Regions from separate parts of the Homo sapiens genome. Here region 1 is linked to region 2. Evidence: promoter capture Hi-C in human tissues and cell types (Jung and others, 2019). All regions are on one chromosome and are shown on one strand. The core of a region is centred on a gene start or on the middle of the fragment in contact, and the rest is flanking DNA. Distances in the headings are between cores, read along the strand shown.

Region 1 (4,945 bases), core at 912-3,411, 310 kb before region 2:
CTTCTCTTTTGTGGCTATTGCTGACATATAATTTATCTGTAGCTATGAGCCCTGCAGTACATTGCTATTATGTTTTGCTTAAATAGTAAATTGTCTTTTAAATATATTAAAATGAAATAAGGTGTTTTATATTTATATGCATATTTAACATTTGTATACTGCAGGTATGCTGGCGACAGTTTCTTTTAGCTTTTGTCTGAAATAGTCATTTAAAGGTAAAACATTTTAAAACTTTATAATTTGCAATAATATTATACTTATGAAGAATTACAAAATTGCCCAAAAAATTTCCATAAACCTATTTCCCAATTTCTTCATACGGTAACATCCACAAAACTACCATCCAAACTAAAAGATTGACATTGATACAATACTATTAGCTCACCTGGAGACCTTATTCCAGTTTTGTCCATTGTCCTACTATTGCCCCTTTTCTTGACCAGTATTCAATCTAGGGTTGCTTATTGCCTTTAATTGTCTTTTCTTCTTAGTCTCCTTTAATCTGGGATAGTTCCTCAGGCTTCCTTTCTTGACACTTGTGCTGGTTGTTTGTGGTTGCCCTGCAGAGCAAAGATCAGCAACTCTACCCAAATGTGGTTTGAATGTGGAGACTGATGATGCCACATATACACAAAGAGGGCATGAGGCATTCTGGGCAGAGCACAACAGGCTCCCCAAAAGGCCCCAAAATGGCTTGAGAACAAGGGAGGGGCAAGTTGCCTTGGGTCTTATTGAGGTTAAGGGCTGGGGATAGGGCATGGTTTTCCCATGCACAGGCCAGTGTTTGAACTTCCCTGCTGGAGCCAAGGGAGGAAACACCTAGGCTTTTTTGTCTACCAAATGGAGGGCAAAAGATTAAGGAGGAGTTGTGGGGCTTCAAAGCTGTCAGTGGTCAAACATCAAATATGGAATTGGATTCTGTTACAATTCACCCCTGATGTTTAATGGATTACTGAAATGTATCCTGTTTTTTTAAATTAAATTTAAACCTGTTTAAGTATGCTGTGATGGTACTCTATGAGGCCTGCAGCCTGAGGCCAGTAAGGGGGATAAAATTTCTGTTCAATGCCTTCTTATTAAAGAGCCTAATGTTATGTATTTTGAGAAGTGAAATGAATGCCTCGGTCACTCTCAAGAATGTATGGAACTCTGAAGGGGATAAGGAGTATCTTGGTGAGGCCTTGTATTGTGGCTTGAGTATGTGCAGAGATATATCTGACCTTGATTTATATTTCTGGGTATCTTCAAGCAAGACATTTCCAGAGTTCTTTACCCCAAAGAGGATGACCTTGGATAAAGAACTGTTGTTGCCATTAGTCAGACCAGATAGCCAGGTAATTGGCAATGGCCTAAGGGTCTGAAAAATGTTAAGATGGGGTTGCTTATTGGGCAGGGCATCCTTTGTTGCTAAGATGACTGCTTGAAGTTTGGCAAATTGTGTGGACCCTTGGGTCCTGTCTTTTATCAGGGATGTCTGTTAAGGGATGGAAAACACAAATAGAATCAGTTGTGACGGTAGCACTGCCATTTTTAAAGTATGTGAATTCCCTTTGCTGTTCACTCAGTTGATCCCAAAGGGATCCCCAAGAAGCCAAGGGGTCTGAGAGAGGAATGACCTCCTTCAGCACTGTGGTGTCTGGCCAGAAACTGAGGACAGGGGAGCCCATGGCCTCCTGCAGGCAGGATATGCTACAGGACCCAGATTTGGCTCCATACTGTAGATACTATTTTCATTTTAGCAAGGAAGCCTCAATAGCCATGCCAAGCTTTGGGGGTGTGCCTTCCATGGCCCAAGGCATAGCGGGCAGCTAGTGTGTCATGGTCTCAAGGCCTGTAAGAGCCTCCTTTTTTGGAAGAGTCCAGTATGCAGTCAGCTATTGTCACTCTAATAATGTATAGCATCAGGCTGAGGAAGGCGATTTCTTGCATCGGAAACCCACAGACTATTTATGGCCATCATAAGTGAACCAAAGACTCTGGAAGTATGAGAGGAGGTTGCTAAAGCCTCTACAGTGAAGGAATTTCTGGGGAGCACTAACAGTCTCTGGAAGTATGAGAGGAGGTTGCTAAAGCCTCTACAGTGAAGGAATTTCTGGGGAGCACTAACAGTAGGGTCTGTCCTTTTGCAATTTGAACAGGTTTTAAGCCTTTTGTTTTAGTGGACCCCATTCAGGTGAACCAATTTGTAAGGAACAGCAAAAATGGGCTTAAGTAGGGCCGGGTGCAGTGGTTCACACCTGTAATCCCAGCACTTTGGGAGGCCAAAGCGGGTGGATAACTTGAGGTCAGGAGTTCGAGACCAGCCTGGCCAACATGCTGAAACCCCGTTTCTACTAAAAAAATACAAAAAAATTAGCTGAGCGTGGTGGTGGGTGCGTGTTATCCCAGCTTCTTGGGAGGCTGAGGCAGGAGGATCACTTGAACCTGAGAAGCAGAGGTTGCAGTGAGCCAAGATCATGCCACTGCAGTCCAGCCTTGGTGGCAGAGGGAGATTCTGACTCAAAAAAAAAAACCAAAAATGTCTTAATTAAAATTTGCAAAGGAGGAACATGTTGCTTCAGAACCCCCAGAGTTCTAAAAGATACTGGGCTTTTAGCATTGTGGGTGCTAAGAGGGTCAATAGAGATTTCTTGACAATGTCAGAAATGTCAAGGATAAACAGCTCTCAATTTACTAAGTAATACCCAGAAATTTTACTGAGGTATACTTGTGCTTGTACCTTGTACTTTGTGTGGAAGAAATGACCCATCCTTTTTCATGAGCTGCCTTTTGAATGTTTGTATGCGTTAAATTAGTGTATCAAATGAATTTCCACTGCACCCAACTACTTCAGGAGGCTGAGAGGGGAGGATCGTTTGAGCCCAGGAGTTTGAGGCTGCAGTGTGCTATGACTGTACTTGTGAATAGCTACTGCACTCCAGCCTGGGCAACATCATAAGATCCTGTCTTTTTATTTTTATTATTTATTTATTTATTTATTTTTTTTTTTCGAGACAGAGTCTCACACTGTTGCCCAGGCTGGAGTGCAGTGGCGTGATCTCGGATCACTGCAAGCTCAGCCTCCTGGGTTCATGCCATTCTCCTGCCTCAGCCTCCCGAGTAGCTGGGACTACAGGCACCTGCCGCCACATCCGGCTATTTTTTTTGTATTTTTAGTAGAGACGGGGTTTCACCATGTTGGCCAGGATGGTCTCGATCTCTTGACCTCATGATCCACCCACCTCGGCCTCCCAAAGTGCTGGGATTACAGGCGTGAGCCACCGCGCCCGGCCTCAAGACCCTGTCTTTTTAAAAAATTAATTTCCTCTGAGAAGGATGTCATATATCTAACATCATACTTGTGTTTCTGGAGAGAGTTGGATGCAGTTAAGGTTTTTGTTTGCAAAGATCGTGTGCAATGGCAGGTCTGTTGGGGGTCCCATGGGTAGTTAGTATATTGTGTCCATGCAATGGTAAAGACAAGCTGGCTGAAACGGGAACTTAAGAGAACATATTAGCCCAAATATATGATAGCAAAGTATTTGCCAGTTGCTGATTGGAGGGAGGCAGTAATTTTAGTAGTATAGAAGCTGGCCTGTTTTTTACTCACAACACTTCTGACACTAAATGTATGGGTTTTTTCCCCTATACCAACTGATATGGTTTGACTGTGTTCCCACCCAAATCTCATCTTGAATTGTAACTCCCACAATTCCTACATGTCGTGGGAGGAACCCAGTGGGAAGTAATTGAAACATGAGGGTGGGTCTTTCCTGTGCTATTCTCATGATAGTGGATAAGTCTCACAAGATCTGATGGTTTTAAAAACGGGAGTTTCCCTGCACAAGCTCTCTTTCTCTTGCCTGCTGCCATCCATGTAAGATGTGATTTGTTCCTCCTTGCCTTCTGCCATGATCGTGAGGCCTCCCCAGCCATTTGGAATTGTAAGTCCATTATACCTCTTTTCTTCCCAGTCTCGGGTATATCTTTATCAGCAGCCTGAAAACGACCTAATACACCAACCAATTCTCCAACTCTCTGAAAACCAACTGGGTGTCCAGCAATTCAGTTTCATTCTGACACTATCTACCTGGAGTTCACATCAGTTCCCACGAGATTGCCCCATCTTTAGAGACCAGTCACAAGTCCCAGGCCTCCTGTACTTCTGACTGGCCAGTTAAAAATCGGGTGTTCTCATGACCCCCTCCTCAGTTTCCATAATTTACTGGAATAGCTCACAGAACTCGGGAAAATACTTTACTTACATTTACTGGCTTATTATAAAGGATGCAATTCAGGAACAGCCAGATGGAAGAGATGCCCAGGGAAGGGTATTGAGCGGGGGTGGAGGAGGGTACCCCCAGAGTTTCCATGCCCTGAGTGCTTCACTCTCCCGGGACCTCCACGTGTTTACAGAACCCTGTAGGGTAGAAGGGACTTATGGAGGTTTAATTACCTAGGCATGATTGATTAAATTATTGGCCATTGGTGACTGATTCAATCTCCAGCCCTCTCCCCGCCCCATAGGTCTGAGATGAGCCTGAAAGTTCCAAACTTTTAATGCCTTGGTCTTTCTGATCATCAGCCCCCATCTTGAAGCTATCTAGCACTCCCAGCTAATCATTTCATTAGCATGCAAAAGACACATATTAGCCTAAAGATTTCAAGGGTTTCAGGAGTGCCAGGAACTCTTAAGTGGAACTGCAGCATTATGATTGTGGTAATCCACCATCAGGCATCCTTCATTCATTCTAGGTTTAAGACCAGGACAATTTGGAGTGGAGAAAAACTGGGGACAATCACCCTTCTCTAAATAGGTCTTATATAATGGGTTTTGAGCTTATGGCTAGGTGCGGTGGCTCACATCTGTAATCCTAGCACTTTGGGAGGCTGAGGCATGTGGATTGCATGAGTCCAGGAGTTTGAGACCAGCCTGGAAAACATGGGAAAAAACCCATCTCTACAA
Region 2 (5,618 bases), core at 2,153-4,652:
AGGAGGCTGAGGCAGGAGAATCACTTGAACCTGGGAGGTGGAGGTTGCAGTGAGCTGAAATCGTGCCATTGCACTCCAGCCTGGGGAACAAGAGCAAAACTTCGTCTCAATAAAAAAAAAAAAAAAAAAGGCTGGGTGCGGTGGCTCACGCCTGTAATCCCAGCACTCTGGGAGGCCAAGGTGGGTGGATCACAAAGTCAGGAGATTGAGACCATCCTGGCTAACATGGTGAAACCCCGTCTCTACTAAAAATACAAAAAAATTAGCCAGGCGTGGTGGCAGGCGCCTGTAGTCCCAGCTACTTGGGAGGCTGAGGCAGGAGAATGGCGTGAACCCAGGAGGCGCTGCTTGCAGTAATCGGAGATCGCGCCACTGCACTCCAGCCTAGGTGACAAAGGGAGACTCCATCTCAAAAAAAAAAAAAAAAAAAGGGATCGGGGTCCCCTCATCTGAAAAGACTGAGTCACACAATTCCCTCCTTTATTCCTCCTGCCCTGGCCCTTCCTGATTCAATTCCTTGGTTCACATTCCATAACAATAGTCAACTCATACGAAAGCTCTGAGAAGCACTGTGTAAGCCCTTGAATCCATAAAATAATTTCATCCTCACAACATCCTATGAGGTAGGTTCTATTTATATCCCCATTTTGTGAATGGAGAAACCAAGGTGCAGAGATTACCTTATTATTGTCTTATTATCTGCCACTCCGTATAGGTAACAGATCCAGGATTTACCCCAGGCCATCTGGGCTCAGATCTATGTTCTTAACATCTACATGATACAGGCCAGGCGCAGTGGCTCACGCCTGTAATCCTAGCACTTTGGGAGGTCCAAGCAGGTGGATCACGAGGTCAGGAGTTCAAGACCAGCATGGCCAAGATGGTGAAACCCCATCTCTACTAAAAATACAAAAGTTAGCCGGGCGTGGTGGCAGGTGCCTGTAATCCCAGCTGCTTGGGAGGCTAAAGCAGAGAATTGCTTGAACCCGGGAGGCGGAGGTTGCAGTGAGCCAAGATCGCGCCAGTGCACTCCAGCCTGGGTGAGAAAGTGAGACTCCAATTAAAAAAAAAAAAAAAAGGGCCAGGCACAGGGATTACATGCCTTCAATCCCAGCGCTTTGGGAGGCCAAGGTGGATGGATCATCTAAGGTCAGGAGTTCGAGACCAGCCTGACCAACATAGTGAAACCCCATCTCTACTAAAAGTACAAAAATTAGCCGGGTGTGGTGGTGGGCACCTGTAATCCCAGCTACTCGGTAAGCTGAGGCAGGGAAAATTGCTTGAACCCAGGAGGCAGAGGTTGTAGTGAGCCGAGATTGTGCCACCACACTCCAGCCTAGGTGACAGAGCGAGACTCCATCCCCCCCCAAAAAAAAAGAAAAAGAAAAGAATAGAAAAAAAAAAGAATGCATTCATAAGCCTGGGTAACATGGCGAAACCTCATCTCTACAAAAAATTCAAAAACTAGCCGAGCGTGGTGGTACATGCCTGTGGTCCTAGCTGCTCGGGAGGCTGAGATGGGAAGATGCTTGAGCCTGGCAGGCAGAGGCTGCAGTGAGCTGCGATCACGCCACTGCACTCCAGCCTGGGCGACAGGGCAAGATCCTGTCTCAAAAAAAGAAAAAAGAAAAAAAGAAAAGAAAGAAGCAAACATGCATAAATGAATAAAACATTTATTGGGAAGGGAGATTCTGTCATCTTCGGACAATTAACCACCAGGAAGTCCCGCCAGAGATCTAACCATAGTCTCTCCCACTGTAACAGCAGCACACAATAAATCCTCTCTGGCTCAGTGCTCACTTTGCACTCACGCTGCCGGCAGGTATTTCCCTGGAGCTTCCTACCTCTTAGCCTGGATTCCTTCCCTTTCTCATCTCCCCCTAGAAACAAATCCAGAACCTGTCATCCCCTAACCCCTCCTCTGCCCCATCCCTTTCCTCTCACCACTCCTACCTGAAGTGACCCTCTTTCTTCTCTCCTAGTCCCACTGCCAGGAACAGGGACAGCAGCAGCAGAGCAAAGGTCTTCGTGGCCACCATCTTCCAAGGTTATTTCCTGAGCTAAGACAGAAAAAAGCCAGGACATGTTGAGAGAGCAACCAGTAGGGGTTCTGAAAGCTGGAGAGGGGCAAAGCCCTGAGGTTTGGACCCTTTCTTTTCCTTTTTCTTTTTTTTTTTTTTTTTTGAGATGGAGTCTCGCTCTGTCGTCCAGGTGGGAGTGCAGTGGCACAATCTTGGCTCACTGCAACCTCCACCTCCTGGGTTCAAGCCATTCTTCTGCCTCAGCCTCTCGAGTAGCCTGGACTACAGGCATGTGCCACCACTCCCGGCTAATTTTTGTATTTTTAGTAGAGACAGGGTTTCACCATATTGGCCAGGCTGGTCTCGAACTCCTGACCTTGTGATCTGCCCACCTGGGCCTCCCAAAGTGCTGGGATAACAGGCGTGAGCCATCGCGCCTTGCCAGTTTGGACCTTTTCTAAGAGCCTGGGGCAACACCATGGGGGAAGATGAGGGGTGCTGTGCACTGGAGTTAGTGACTAGAAGGGACATGGAATCTTACCAAAAGATGGACCAGGCTGGGTGCAGTGGCTCATGCCTGCAATCCCAGCACTTTGGGAGGCCCAGGTGGGCGGATCACTTGAGGTCAGGAGTTTGAGACCAGCCTGGCCAATATGGTGAAATCCTGTCTCTACATAAAAGACAAAGATTAGCCAGGTGTGGTGGTGCGCGCCTGTGATCCCAGCTATTCAGGAGGCTGAGGCATGAGAATCGCTTGAACCTGGGAGGAAGAGGTTGCAGTGAGCCGAGATTGCGCCAGTGCACTCCAGCCTGGGTGACAGAGCGAGACTCCATCTCTAAATAAATAAATAAAGGAAACATCAGCGCTACCTTCTCATTTCTCTTTCTCTTTTTTTGAGACAGGGTTTCGCTCTGTCACCCGGGTTGGAGTGCAGTGACACAATCGTGGCTCACTGCAGCCTCGACCTCCTGGGCTCAGGCAAACCTTTCACTTCACCCTCCCGAGTACCTAGAACCGCAGGCATGTACCACCATGCCCAGCTAATTTTTTAAATTATGTGTAGAGATCGAGTTTCCCTCCATTGCCCAGGCTGGTCTTGAACTCCTGTGCTCAAATGATCCTCCTACCTCGGCTCCCAAAGTATTGGGATTACAGGCATGAGGCACCGCACCTGACTATCTTCTCACATCTCATATAGAGGAAGAGAAAACTAAGATGCCAGGGCTGCTGAGCATCTCAGGGTTGCCAAGATCCATCTGCTCTCGGGTCATCTCATCCATCCCTGTCTCCACTTCTCTTACCAGACTTCCTTTCCAGCTCTTCCAGAAGAAGGACAGATAGGGGTCTCCTTCCCCTGATTTCTGGACCTTCTGAGCCTGCTGAAGAAATCATGCCCCAGCTCCTTTATATTAGGCATAGACCTGCTGATTAGCCTAAAAGCATCTTATCTCAAGAAATTAAGCCCACAGCTCCTGCCACATTAAGTCCATTTTACACATAATAGAGTTGCCCTTTCCACCTGAACTGTGCTAATTGGTGATTAACATTTGGCTATCTCCAGCTGCTGTCTGGGGCCTGCCTGTGGGTAGGGTACCCTAAGTACCCCCTTTTTTCTTCCTCCTCCTCCCTTCTGGGCACAGGGCCCACTACTATTCTTCTATGCCCTACTTCCTTTACAGTTGCCCTCAGTTAGAAGGGATACTTGTAGGCCAGGCGCGATGAATCACGTCTGTAATCCCAGCGCTTGGGAGGACGACACGGGCGGATCACCTGAGGTCAGGGGTTCGAGACCAGCCTGGCCAACATGGTGAAACCCAGTCTCTACTAAAAATACAAAAATTAGCTGGGCATGGTCGTGCACGGCTGTAATCCCAGCTACTTGGGAGGTTGAGGCAAGAGAATCACTTGAACCTGGGAGGCAGAAGTTACAGTGAGCCAAGATCGAGTTCACTGCACTCCAGCATGGGCAACAAAGAGAGACTCTCTCAAAAAAGAAAAAAAGAAAAGAAAAAAGAAAGGGGGCCGGGCGCAGTGACTCACGCCTGTAATCCCAGCACTTTGGGAGGCCGAGGCGGGTGGATCACGAGGTCACGAGATCGAGACCATCCTGGCTAACACAGTGAAACCCCGTCTGTACTAAAAACACAAAAAATTAGCCGGGCATGTTGGCAGGTGCCTGTAGTCCCAGCTACTCGGGAGGCTGAGGCAGGAGAATGGCGTGAACCCGGCAGGCGGAGGTTGCAGTGAGCCGAGATGGCGCCACTGCCTGCCAGCCTGGGCGACGGAGCGAGACTCCATCTCAAAACAAACAAACAAACAAAAAAAAAAAAAACAAACAAAAATTAGCCAGGCATGGTGGCACGTGCCTGTAGTCCCAGCTACTTGGGAGGCTGAGGCAGGAGAATCGCTTGAACCCAGACCTGGAGGCAGAGGTTGTAGTGAGCCAAGATCGTGCCACTGCACTCCAGCCTGGGTGACAAAACAAGACTCTGTCTCAAAAAATAAAAATAAAAATAAAAAAGGGTACTTGTAGTGAAGACAGACTTGGGGTAGGGTGGCACTAACTGGCAGGGGGACACTCCCACAAGGCAACAGGCTACTTCTGGGTGGGAGAGAGTAGGTCCACAGTCATCTGAATCCCAGCTCTGGACAGTGGCCTATGGCTTTGGTGATGTGGCAATGCCCCCATCACATTATCTAGAGAGGTGTCCCAAGGGCTCAATGTTGAGGGAATATGAAGGATCGGGGTTTCCTAGGGACAGCTGGATAAACTGAGAACATACATTCAAGCTGTCTTCCTGCTCAGGGGCAGGATAAAGCAGGAGAAAGAGACATGTTTGTACCTCAGGGGCTCACAGGAGGGTGGGGTAGTTACAACTTTATCTATAGAGATTTAGGAGCCCCTCTCCTCATATGTCCTACTGTCCTGTACAAGAGAAGTATGTCATCCTGTCTCTTCTATCAGAGTGAAGACCCTGGAGTTATGCTGTGCCTCTCTATTATACAGGAGCCACTCCAAGGCAGGGGCTTTCTGTCCCTGATCTGCCTGGGAGCTCTCTGAGAGGAGGAGGAGAGCTGGAGGCGATGTTCCCCCAGCACACTGAGGCTTTCTGAGGCTAAGGGCTGTGTCTCCCCCTCAGACTGGAGACTCCTTGGGATACTCCCTTTGCCTTTCTCCAAGTACTTAGCACATGGCTCTGTCCACAGGGGCTCTCAGTCTAGAAGGGGCAGGGCACAGATTGCATTTTTGGCAGACCTCCAAGGCGTTCTTTCCAGGCTCCTCCTCTGCCGCCGCCATGGGTACTTGGGACCATAAACAGCCAAGCTCATGCTCTGCCTATCAGCTCCAGGTCCTAATAAAGGCCACCTTCCTTTCCAGGTGAACACCCTAGCCTAGGAGCAGATCCAGCATGAAATTAAGTGTGCGTGTGGGATGAGAGGTACCTGGACTAGCAGGGTCACTTACCTCTGCCTCCTGGAAACCTCCTCTGCATACCCACCCATTCTCCACCATCTAGAAAAACTCCTCCCTTAGCAAGCTCTCCAAATTCCATCTCCCAGCTACCAATGGGCAGAGATTAGACGTCGATTCAGAT

Evidence for each region. The method cuts DNA at HindIII sites, captures the fragments that hold promoters and counts their contacts. A contact is called where the count stands out against the background at its distance.
Region 1: a contact is called between a fragment that was not itself captured here and the fragment with the promoter of GIP in region 2, in 1 of the 25 tissues and cell types used here (dorsolateral prefrontal cortex).

What each region holds. Positions count from the first base shown.
Region 1 is chr17:48,655,484-48,660,428 of GRCh38, forward strand. The region is part of intron 3 of LINC02086 (long intergenic non-protein coding RNA 2086); the gene reads left to right. Among named protein-coding and RNA genes, the nearest start is that of LINC03057, 11 kb to the left of the region's middle. The HindIII fragment of the contact is 5,644 bases long and covers 1-4,945 here.
Region 2 is chr17:48,965,194-48,970,811 of GRCh38, forward strand. GIP (gastric inhibitory polypeptide) reads right to left here and starts at 3,403. Exons shown (of 6, transcript NM_004123.3): 1 at 3,324-3,403; 2 at 1,954-2,060. The coding sequence starts at 2,039. RefSeq lists enhancers at 989-1,489, 1,490-1,990. The HindIII fragment of the contact is 44,226 bases long and covers 1-5,618 here.